Linked DNA regions of Homo sapiens: region 2 is linked to region 1. Evidence: promoter capture Hi-C in 16 types of primary human blood cells and fetal thymus (Javierre and others, 2016). All regions are on one chromosome and are shown on one strand. Each heading gives the region's core, a stretch centred on a gene start or on the middle of the fragment in contact. The rest is flanking DNA. Distances are from core to core; before and after follow the strand shown.

Region 1 (5,541 bases), core at 170-2,669:
ACAATCACTTTCCAGGAACTTCCCTGCAAACAGTGCTGTGCGCTGGCAGGATGGAAATCTTAGCAATCTCCCTCCTGCTTCCATAGTTTCCTCCTCTCTAAATAAAATTATTTATGGGGACTTAATGAGAGAGCAAGCCTTGTGTGAAAGGAATTCAAGAAAGTGCGGCTTCTAAAAATACACCTAGGCAGCTCTACAGTCCTTATTGTTACAACCTGACGTTTTGCAGTTCATGCCATGAACCTAACTACACTTCTTGCCAAATACACACAAGCGTACAAAGAAGAGGAAAAGTAAAAACTATGTTACTATGTTTTATCTTTCTGCAATCCCTTTGAGTAAACAGTAGTAATTTTCTGTTGACATACTCAATGCAAATTTCCCAAAGGCTACACAATACAAAACAAAAGACCTGTTAGCTTCCTCAGAGCTGGGGGGAGGAGAGGCAGGGGGAGAGAAATAAAGTTGATGGAGCTCCAGTTTCTCCTAAGCCTGCAGTCCTGAGCCTCCAGTCACCCTAGTCTTTTTGTAGAGATTTTTTGAGTTTCAGTCTCCACTTGGGAAGGTTCCTTGGCCCCTTCTCTCCCAATGTCAATAAAACCCTCATCTCTCCCGCTTTGCCCCCAGCTTTTTGGGGAAATTGGACCTTGCCTAGGCGTCTTGTTCCAGTGGGTTGAAAAGTACAGCTGGTGATGTGAGGATAAATATTTAAACTAATGGGCTGGGTCACAGCGTGGGGGTCTTCAAGAGAGGGCCTCCTCCTCCTTCCGCCACGTGCTCCTCACTTGGGGTGCAGGGCTCCTGGACAAGGGGCTAAGACGGACGAGGGTGGGATGAAGGGAGATGGACAGACCAGACTGTAAGTGAAGGAGGCCCTCTAGGAAACATCGTCTCGACCGAACATTGACGGAGAAAAAAAAAATGGCCCAAATGCCCCTAGTGGGGAAGCATACACCCCACGCAGGCTGGGTTGGGGTGGGGGTGCTTCGCGGCCTCTCACCTGACTTCCTCCTCCGCCTGCACACACACTACAGTAACCCCCTCTACTCACCCCCCAAAACCCAGCCAAACAACAAGCAACAAGAGGAAGCCGCAGGCGACAAGAGGAGGAGTGCGCGTGTTGGGGGCCCCCGGAGAGGTGAGGGGGCAGGGTTGGCGGGCGACGAGAACCGCGCCGCGCACCCCAAGCGCACCCCCAAGCGCCCACACTTACCCCTCGAGGCTGAGGGTCCTGTCTTCCGCGCCAACCCCCGTGTGCGCCCCCTGGCCCGCCCTCGCCCCTCCGGCCCGCCGCCCCCCACACCCCGGCCGGCGCGCTGGGAGGGAGCCCGGGAGCGGTGCGCAGCAGCGGCGGCGGCGGCGGCGGCTCGGGCTCGGCTCGGCTCGGGCTTCAGTGCGCCTAGTGTCGCCAGCGGCCGCCGAGGCTCCCACCGCCAGGGGGAGAAGCCGGGCGGGCGCTGGGGAGGCGGGCCGGGCCCTGGCCGCCCCGCTGGCCAGCCCGCGCCGCACAAGCTCCGAAGCGGCGGCTACGCGGGGTCCGCCGAGCCCCCGGGCGCAGCGTGCCCGGTCCGAAGCGCCACGTCTGGATGCGCGTCCCGGGTGGCTGCGGGCTCCCGCGGGGGACGCCCCGGCCGCTCCGGTGCGCCTCCAGACTGCAGGCGCCGCGACCGACGAGACGAGAGCAGCTCCCGCCGGCCCCTTCCCCCTCCCGCCCCCGCCGCCGCCCCCTCCCCCTTCTCCCCCCCCCGCCCGTTAACATCTCCTCCCTCCCCCTCCTTCTCTTCCTTCCCTTGGCCCCGCGCGCTCGCTCGCTCGCTCCTCGCCTCGCTCTCCCCTTTAAACGCCCACTTCGTATGGGGAAAGAGGACAACTTGAAGTCAAGTTGCAATTAACTTCCGCGGCAGCCGCAGCTCCGGCGGCGGCGGCGGCGGCAGGAGAGGCAGAAGCCGCCGCCTCGGAAGTCCGACGCCGGCGCGCCCGCCCGGGGAGCCGTTCTTGGTTTCAGGCCCGCACTCGACAGCCACCGCCGCCCCCAACGTCCATGCCTGAGTGAGTTCTGCTCTTTTGCCTCCCTTTTCCCCTTGCTACTCTTGCTGTTTTATCTCTGTCCCTCTTTTTCCGGAATCAATCCAAACTTCTCCGTAGCACCCACTCCTCGTCCCCTATTGGGGCGGCTGGGCTCCCCTCTCGTGGGCGCAGGGCTTCAACGGTCTTCCGAGCCCCTTTTCTCACGCAGACGGACCTTGGAGGGGTGGGCTGGTAGAGTAGGGGAGAGCGGTCGGGATGGGGGATTTGAAGATGCCATTCGTTTTCTGTCTGGGTGTGGACACACCACCACACCTGCCCAATAGACCCTGGCTGAACAAACTCCTTCAGGTCACCGGTATGGCCCCTTTTAGAAAAGGAAAGGGGAGTGGAAAAGACCGAAGGAAGCAAATGGGGAAAAGGGGAGCCTCTCGGTGCGTTCTGGAGCCGGGCGGGCAGTAAGGTGCCTGGAGGAGTGGGCTGCGGGAGTGGTAATGTTCCCCCACCGGATCGCGAGTCTGCTCAGCATCCTTTCCCGGTCCATCTCCGCCTCCCTCCGCTCCCTGCCTGCGCGGCTGATTGTAAGCATCGGCGAAGAGGGGCCTGGGAAGTTTGTGGCAACTTCTGCATCCCGGGAGCTACTCGGGCGCCGGGGCGCTCAAGTTGGAGCCCGGAGTTTGAAAGCCGCGGCACTCCTCATTTCGAGCCCTCGCTGGCTGTAGCGAGGCCGGTCCTGGAGAGGCTGCTGGCGTGAATGTGGGTTTGGAGTTGGGCAAGAGGCAGAAGAAAGGGCCGTCCTCTTAGCAGGGGCCGGGACATCACAGGTGCAGCCTCGCAGTCCACACCGTGTTTCCCTCCTGCTGTCCAGACCCGAGCGCGGTGGCCTTTTCCTATTGCTCCAGTGCTAAGGCTCCCGGGCCGGCAGAACCGGGGTTTGGGAAACCACGACGAGAAGGACGAAGCAGGCAGGTGGCAGGTCCGGGGAGTGCCACGTGCTTACTGGGGAAACGCAGTTTCCTCTTGGGATGACCTCAGAAGACCAACAGGGGAAAGGGGCATAGGGATCTCCTTGAAAGTTTTGGCCTTGGCCTCCACTGAGGTGTTGCAAATTTCACTAACAAATGTCAACCACAGGGTCCTCTCTCAAAGTGTCCTGGTTGGCAACTTTGACCTCTGCGCCCTTCCTTGGCGAACTTTCTCAGTGGCATTCCGGACTTACAAGCAAATGTTCTAAGACTTGGACTCCACATGGTTATAAAAGAGACAGGGAAAACAGAAGGATGCCCTATTCCCCAGAGAGAACCTTACTGCTCTGACTGACTGGGTTTCCATGTTTGCATCCTTGGAGGCCAGGGGACCTGACTTTCTCAAGGGGGTGGCGGGTAGGGTAAGAATGAGTAAAATGTTACCGCTCGGTGTCAGGTTTTGTCCTAAGCAATCTGAAATTTACGGTGTTTGTACTGCTGACAGAGTAACTCATCCCGTTGAAACTTAGTTGAAATTTACACTCTATCCAAAGTGGATTTTTCTGAGATGTCAGGAATGTGAGATTTATTCTGTGGTCAAATGTAGCTGCAAAAATCAAAAACAAAAACCCATACTTTAAGTCTGAAGAAAACCAAGGTTGAGGTGTTTGCTCTAAAAACCTCTCATCTCCTGTATGGTACTACTGCTATGATTTAGCAGTAGTCCTCTATTTCTATTGCATATTATTTTCTTAGAACAGTAGTACATTCATATACTGGCTGCTCCAGTCTGCTGGCAAACATTAGCATTCAAGCTTACATTTTTGACAAATGTGCAGACAGGAATAGCATGAATAGGCATCTTAAATATTAACAACCTAAGCATCTGTTGTGAAACAAATTTAATATATTTACTCTGTTTTTCTCACATTGTTAGAAAAGGTTATAATAAGTGCATAATTTCAACTTTAGTTAGCAGAAGTAACTGGCTGTATCTTTCACTACCTCTCCAAGTGTTTATTACACAATCATCAGACATAAATACTTTAATTAACTTGGTTAAGCACATTATTAAATACACTGTAGACAATGTGTATACTATATAAAATGTAACAGTAGCAAACTATGTATTCTATTTGTACACGTTTTAAATGACTATGCATTTTATAAATATACCAAATATGTTTATTCTTCATCTTCATTTGACACTTACTACTTCATAGTTTTTTCTAATGAAAACAATATTTTAAATGTAGAGTTGTTCAGTCATAGGTAATACATAATATTTAAACAGTAGCTATAAAATACAAGGCATTGTCAAATTTGGATAATGCTACATCTAACATTATACAAGAGAAATAAAATTACAATTCAATTTTGTATTTATTTCTGAATAATGAATATAAATAATATATGAAAAAATAACGAATAGGGATTTCCCTCCTAAAGTACTACCTCCTTAAAATTTGGTGGGAGGGCAGGATGGGGGGCGGGGGGAAGATAGAGAAAGAAGACCTAAATAACTTCCAAAAGTCTGAATAGTTATTTCCAGAATCAATGCATTCCTCACTTTCCCACAAGCTGAAATATGTAATAAATAATAGTTCTTTGTATGTAAAAGTATTCAAAAGGAATGTTTTTTGTTCAGATTTGTAAGAAATTAATATATTCTTTGGTTGATAATCTACAAAAGTAGTTCTTTTGTCTCCCAGCATCTTAAGAACGACAACAAAATGAATATTGGTTTATTTCTGCAAAGAAATCTGTTGCCAGCTATATGAACCTGTGATTAAATAAGACATGATATGCTGAGTGATGGTAAAGAAATACTACATTAACTTAGTAAAGACTAAAATATCTGGAGGAGAATTTTTAGTTCTTTTTCATATGACAGGTTGTGGATTGTAAATTAGGCCTAAAAGGTCAGGTGACAGGCACCTGTTCCTCATTATTGTAAAAATATTTTGGTTACAAACACTGTTAAGCTAAACACAACATGGATATACAGCAGGGACTCTATAAAGCACTCTAGTGGGTTTTCATCTGTTCTGTAAATTTCCAAAAGGGCTATACATAGATATGCCCTTTACACACATAGTTTCTTCCATACATATTGTCTTGGATGGCTGTAATTAATATATTAGCACTTGGAATTGATGAAGTATTTAAAATAAATGCATATGACTAAAGCAATCTTCAGACTATTTCTAGACATGATGTAGTTGAATGCAAAAATGTTTTTAATCTCTTTTCCCTTTTCAATATATTGATTATCAGAATTTTGTTCATGTTATAAATAGAAACCTCCCCAGATTGCCTTTTACACTTTTTAGATAAGATGGGTTCTTATTTTAAATGCTGCCACGAAATATTTTGCTCAGTACTCATATATAAAAAGAAAATTAGTTGCTATATACTGTCATAGCTTTGTGGCATACATAAAATAGAAAAAACACGTTTTACATGAATGCTGTTAGGAAGGATATCATCATTTGATCTTCAAACTTGCCGCTTCTCTCAGGAGAGTTCAGCAATATTTCTATTGGAATTA
Region 2 (5,492 bases), core at 212-2,711, 52 kb after region 1:
CCACTTTTTAAAAATAAGATTAGGAATGCTGTCCCATTTCCAAAGTTTGTAGAATTGTTCAGGAAAGGAGAGCAAAAACACAGCCTGGTAAGTTGCAACTTGAAATTTTCTTGGTTTTATTGGATTTGGGGTGTGCCCTGTGCCTACCCTTTTTTAATTTAGGAAATGGTTAGAAATCTTTATCAATGCCAATCATTGTTGGCTGAATGTGATTTTACTCTTTGTCCACTTTAGTTGAAATGGATAGTCTTTCTGAGCTATCCCAGCAAGGCGCCAATCATGTCAATTTTGGCCAGCAACCAGTTCCAGGGAACACAGCCGAGCAGCCTCCATCCCCTGCGCAGCTCTCCCATGGCAGCCAGCCCTCTGTCCGGACACCTCTTCCAAACCTGCACCCTGGGCTCGTATCAACACCTATCAGTCCTCAATTGGTCAACCAGCAGCTGGTGATGGCTCAGCTGCTGAACCAGCAGTATGCAGTGAATAGACTTTTAGCCCAGCAGTCCTTAAACCAACAATACTTGAACCACCCTCCCCCTGTCAGTAGATCTATGAATAAGCCTTTGGAGCAACAGGTTTCGACCAACACAGAGGTGTCTTCCGAAATCTACCAGTGGGTACGCGATGAACTGAAACGAGCAGGAATCTCCCAGGCGGTATTTGCACGTGTGGCTTTTAACAGAACTCAGGTCAGTTGTGTTTCATAAGTGGTTCTGTGCTGTCTCCTATTTTCTCTTTCTTTAGTCCCATCTATAACTAAAGTTTATTCTTTTACTTCTGTACTAACATTTTCTCTCTCTCTTCATGTGATCATATTACCTATTCCTGGTGGAGCCTCAATTTTACCACTCCTTTTCCTATGATATACTTCTGAATCAAGGGAACCTATGTGCAGATTGATCCCAATTCAGGGCCTTTGAAAGACTAATTAAATGTCAAACGTACTTTAAACTGGCATTACTTATGCTTTTATATAATGGAATCATAAGCTATAGTAGATGGTTAAGAAAAGTTTCATGACTCAGTCAAGGCTATTGGCAGGATTCCAGGCTTCTAGCCTATTGTCTTTTCCATTTATGTTGTTACTACCCATATCAAACTTAGGTATATAAATGTTCCCTCTTAAAGTTCTACTGCAGCGTTGTTGTTGTTGTTGTTGTTTGTTGTTGTTAACACCTTGGAAGCAATAATCCACTTAATTCTAAGCAGCCATTTTGAAAAAATATTATATGACTTATTAACATAAAATATTTGTAAGCTGTGTGCGCTCCCTCATGCTATTGTCTTCCAAATTCATTGTCTAGACCAGGCATCAGCAAACTTTATTCTGTTATCGACCAGATAGTAAATATTTTAGGTTTTGAAGCACTTAAATCTCGGTCACACTGTAGAGTAATAAAGCAGCCATAGACTATAAATGAATGGCACTGGGTATGGTAGTATTTCAGTAAAACTATTTATAAAACAGGCCATGGAGTAAGTGTGGCTGGCAGGCCTTAGTTTGCAGACTCATTTGTAGAGATCTCACTGCCTGCTTATACCCCTAATGTGCACACCTTTGTCTTCCTGGCCCAATTCCTGTGAAGGTACTATCTATCAGCCTGGAAGATGTTTAAGAGGGTCATGGAGAAAAAGTGATATATATGAGAGGTCATAAGATAAAGATATTTGAGAAGCCCTAAACAAATTGACTCTGTTGAACTGTGAATGAGAAGAATTTTTTTCTTTGTTTGGAAACTAGTATGATACGTGATATATATGGTGTTTATTTTTGGCCCAGGTACACTAAAACAAAACAAAAAACAACAACAAAACCAAAAAACAAACAAAAACGAAAAACCGCGTAACTTTGATTAGAAGAAGGACATTATGCCTTTTCAGCTCTTTTGTTTTACCACTGTTCTTTCTTTTGTCAATTTATCTTATTTTTTGACCTGACTCACATTTTCCTTTCATATTTAAGTTATTTTGTTTATTACATGATTATGATTATGAGAATAAAATTCTGGTACAGAAGTAATCTAGTATTAATTCCTAGTTTGCAGAGTTTCCATACCTAGGAGAATCCCAGCTGTGACTTATTTTTGGCGTGCCTTAACTAGATGGGGAGTTAGGAGACCTGACAAAGCCTCTAATTCAGTGTTTGTTTTCAGTCGATTCATCTTTTTTTTTTTTTTTGTACGTTCGTCTGTTTTTGAAAAGGCAGTTGCACAAGGCTATGTCTCAGGTTAAAATTGTATGGTTTTACCTAGTTCTATATCTTTATAGCTTAAAAAACTGTGTTCATCATTAGCTGGTGAACTTAATATGACACCTATATTCAGTTGGGGGATAATTATTGAAAATGAATGGCTCAAAAGTCAACCCTCTAAATATTCCTGTTTCTGGTAGCATTCTTTATTTTAGTAAATATAGTAAGTACTAATAATTCTCCGTACTAGGCCAAAAAAAGTAGGTCTCTACATAACATTTCAATAATGCTTTTTTGAATTGAGTTAAAAGCCCACAAAGACATCATGACATAGACACAAATTATATATATATGTATATATATGTGTATATATATGTGTGTGTGTATGTGTGTGTATATATATGTATATATGTGTATATATATAGTTACTGGTGTCTTAAAAATTGAGCAGTTATTTCTTAAAGCACTAAGTAAGTGTCCTTTATATAGTGAAGAATGCTAAGACAGTAGAACTCAGAGAAGTGAGGATAAAGTTGTCACCCATCATTACAGCTTTTCTCCTTTTGGGTTTATGATGTTACAGCCATTACTATGAGGAGTTGGCCATTTGTTCTGCCTTTGGTCCTTAAAAGGACAAATTCCACAATATCTACAGGATTTGTTACTGGAAGAAAGGCAAAATTTTCTCTTTTATACCATATTAATCTCTTTGAAAAAGGTAATCATCTCTGTGGTTAATATCAAAAACAGTGACTTTTTTTTCTGTGAGAGGAGAATGAAAACTTTACCTTGTATAGCTTGATTGCAGATACCTCCTTATTAATAATAGCCAATTTAGGAAAAAAAGTCATTACCAAAAAAATATTTAGTGCCCTGGATTATGAAGGGTGTTTTAAAGCTTTATATTGATAATTGATACTCTTCAGTCAAAGTAGATATAGGGCCATATTTGAAGATGTTTGACTTAAGAGGAAATTTGTATATATATTTCAATATTAATTCCTTGAGAACTAACTTTTGCACATGCAGGCATGAATTTATTTTCATTGGTCATTCTTAAAAACCACACACACATACATACACAGCTGCATTTATTTTTTAATGATTATGCATTGGTATGACTGGATGTAGTGTGTTGATTTCAAAGTGTATGCATTTCAATAAAAGCAGGTGCAGAGGGTATGGTGTGAGTGTGGAGTATGAAAATACACATGCTAATGCGTATGTATAGACAAGGAGCTCTGCAGAGTTAAATCACACATCACACATTTGTGTGCACCTAGTACAATGTGCAGTTCCAACTCCAACTTTTAAAACATTAAAAAACCAAACACCGCATATTCTCACTCATAGGTGGGAATTGAACAATGAGATCACATGGACACAGGAAGGGGAATATCACACTCTGGGGACTGTTGTGGGGTGGGGGGAGGGGGGAGGGATAGCATTGGGAGATATACCTAATGCTAGATGACGACTTAGTGGGTGCAGCGCACCAGCACGGCACATGTATACATATGTAACTAACCTGCACAATGTGCACATGTACCCTAAAACTTAAAGTATAATAAAAAAAAAATTAATGTAAAATATGTACATACAAATACAAAGTTACATGATAGGGTCAGATGAAGATACTGTTTCTTATAAACGGCATTAAGACCTTAATATGATAGAAAACACTTGTATGAATTGAGGGTTATTTTAGTCATTGAAGCTCTGTATAACTTTAAAACCCTGGGTCTTAGGTTTTAACTATTGAGAATTTTCTTATCATCTTAATAGGGTTCCCTATATTAACACATTACCCTCCCAAGACTTTCGCACATGGGTTTTTTTTTAAGCCTACCTTTTCTGAAAATTTATGGTAAACTTATATAGTTACTTGTTTTAAGGAATTTTTCCCCTTCTGAATTGATGGGCATGGGTTCTTTAATTGCCGTTGAAGATATCAGCTTTTAGCATATGTCATTCATTCAGTTATGCCTACTTGATGTCTTTTTAATGGAAACCTATGGCTAAAAGTAATTGCCAAAGCTTCTAGATTTCTACTTTTCAATTCACTTCTCTATCTTATTGCTATTTAATGGTTCTGATACATGCAAATACATTCCTTAATACCCTTTGATTTTTAAAAGAATAAAATTCAGAGTTTAACTCTGATCCCACTCTGTGGCTTTTTTCCCCTTTTTCTTCCCCCTCCTCTTGTCTTTTGGCACACTTTATTTTCCAGTAAAATAAAGAATGAAGATGGATTATTCAAAACTGATAACAGTAATGGACCATCATGTAATGTTTTATTAAATTTGAGTTCTGTAAATTATGTGGTGGAGAGAAATTTGCCTGCTTAAGTATAACAGAAATTGCTACTGTGTTTCTATAATTCTTCACAGTGTAATTTAAGAAAAGTCCACTATCCATATCACTATTGAATAAAAGGTAAAAAGGTGCTATTACCCCAACAAGACAGCTCTCTGGTTAGCCTGCCAAACGACAGAGATAAATGTGTCTACTTAAAACTTACTTGGCATGAATCCATGGTAGTAGGTGGAGTTTGAAAATAGTCTTTTACCTGGACATAGGATTAAAAATTCACCAAACAACAGAGGCAGGTAGCCTTGAAGAATATTCTATGTATTTTCTTTTTAGGAGGGAGGTTTCATCAAATCATATTTTCTTCCTGAGGGCTTTGAAGTTCCATGAAGCTGATAAAATCTATTTGAATCAGTGATTATGTTCAAAGAGGAGACAAACGGGAGGCCAGACAGCCTTTTTGTTCAGATTGGCAGTCTCTTTCGCTTATCTGCTGTTTTAAAGAATTCATAATTAGCTTTTGGAAATACTGATAATATTTATTGGAGGTTTTTTCTTTCTTTTACAACTACTAATGAATTTTACTTGTAATAACTTGTAAACTGTTTTTGGAATGTAAAAACAGGTTTAGGAATTCAGCAGTAAATTCATTCTTTAGTTGAAAAAATTAGAACTCTGACTTAACCGCTATGTAATGACAATGCAAAACAATTTTGTGTTTTCATAGATACAGCACACATCTAATTATTGGTAAGATGTGAAGTCCCAATGAAAGGCAGCTTCTGATTTTCAATAAAATGAATATTTATGAGGTACTGGTAACTTCCTACATAACATACAAGTTCTCAGGTTCTTTTCAGACACAAGAATGACTAATGATTTTGTTTAATTTAATTCAACAAATTTATTGAGCGCCAATGATTCTTGATACTGATGACATATTTTAGTCCTGATGTTTCAGCATATTCTATGACATAAATAAGGTACA

Evidence for each region. The method cuts DNA at HindIII sites, captures the fragments that hold promoters and counts their contacts. A CHiCAGO score of 5 or more calls a contact.
Region 2: a fragment that was not itself captured here is called in contact with the fragment with the promoter of SATB1-AS1 in region 1 in 1 of 17 cell types (naive CD4 T cells); the score reaches 5.2 in naive CD4 T cells.

The regions. Positions count from the first base shown.
Region 1 is chr3:18,441,115-18,446,655 of GRCh38, reverse strand. SATB1-AS1 (SATB1 antisense RNA 1) reads right to left here and starts at 1,419. Exons shown (of 7, transcript NR_125803.1): 1 at 1,214-1,419. It also overlaps a transcript of SATB1 not described here. RefSeq lists a silencer at 1,294-1,513. The HindIII fragment of the contact is 8,267 bases long and covers 1-3,807 here.
Region 2 is chr3:18,389,659-18,395,150 of GRCh38, reverse strand. SATB1 (SATB homeobox 1) reads left to right here. Exons shown (of 11, transcript NM_002971.6): 7 at 235-689. Among named protein-coding and RNA genes, the nearest start is that of SATB1, 33 kb to the left of the region's middle. The HindIII fragment of the contact is 3,261 bases long and covers 1-3,091 here.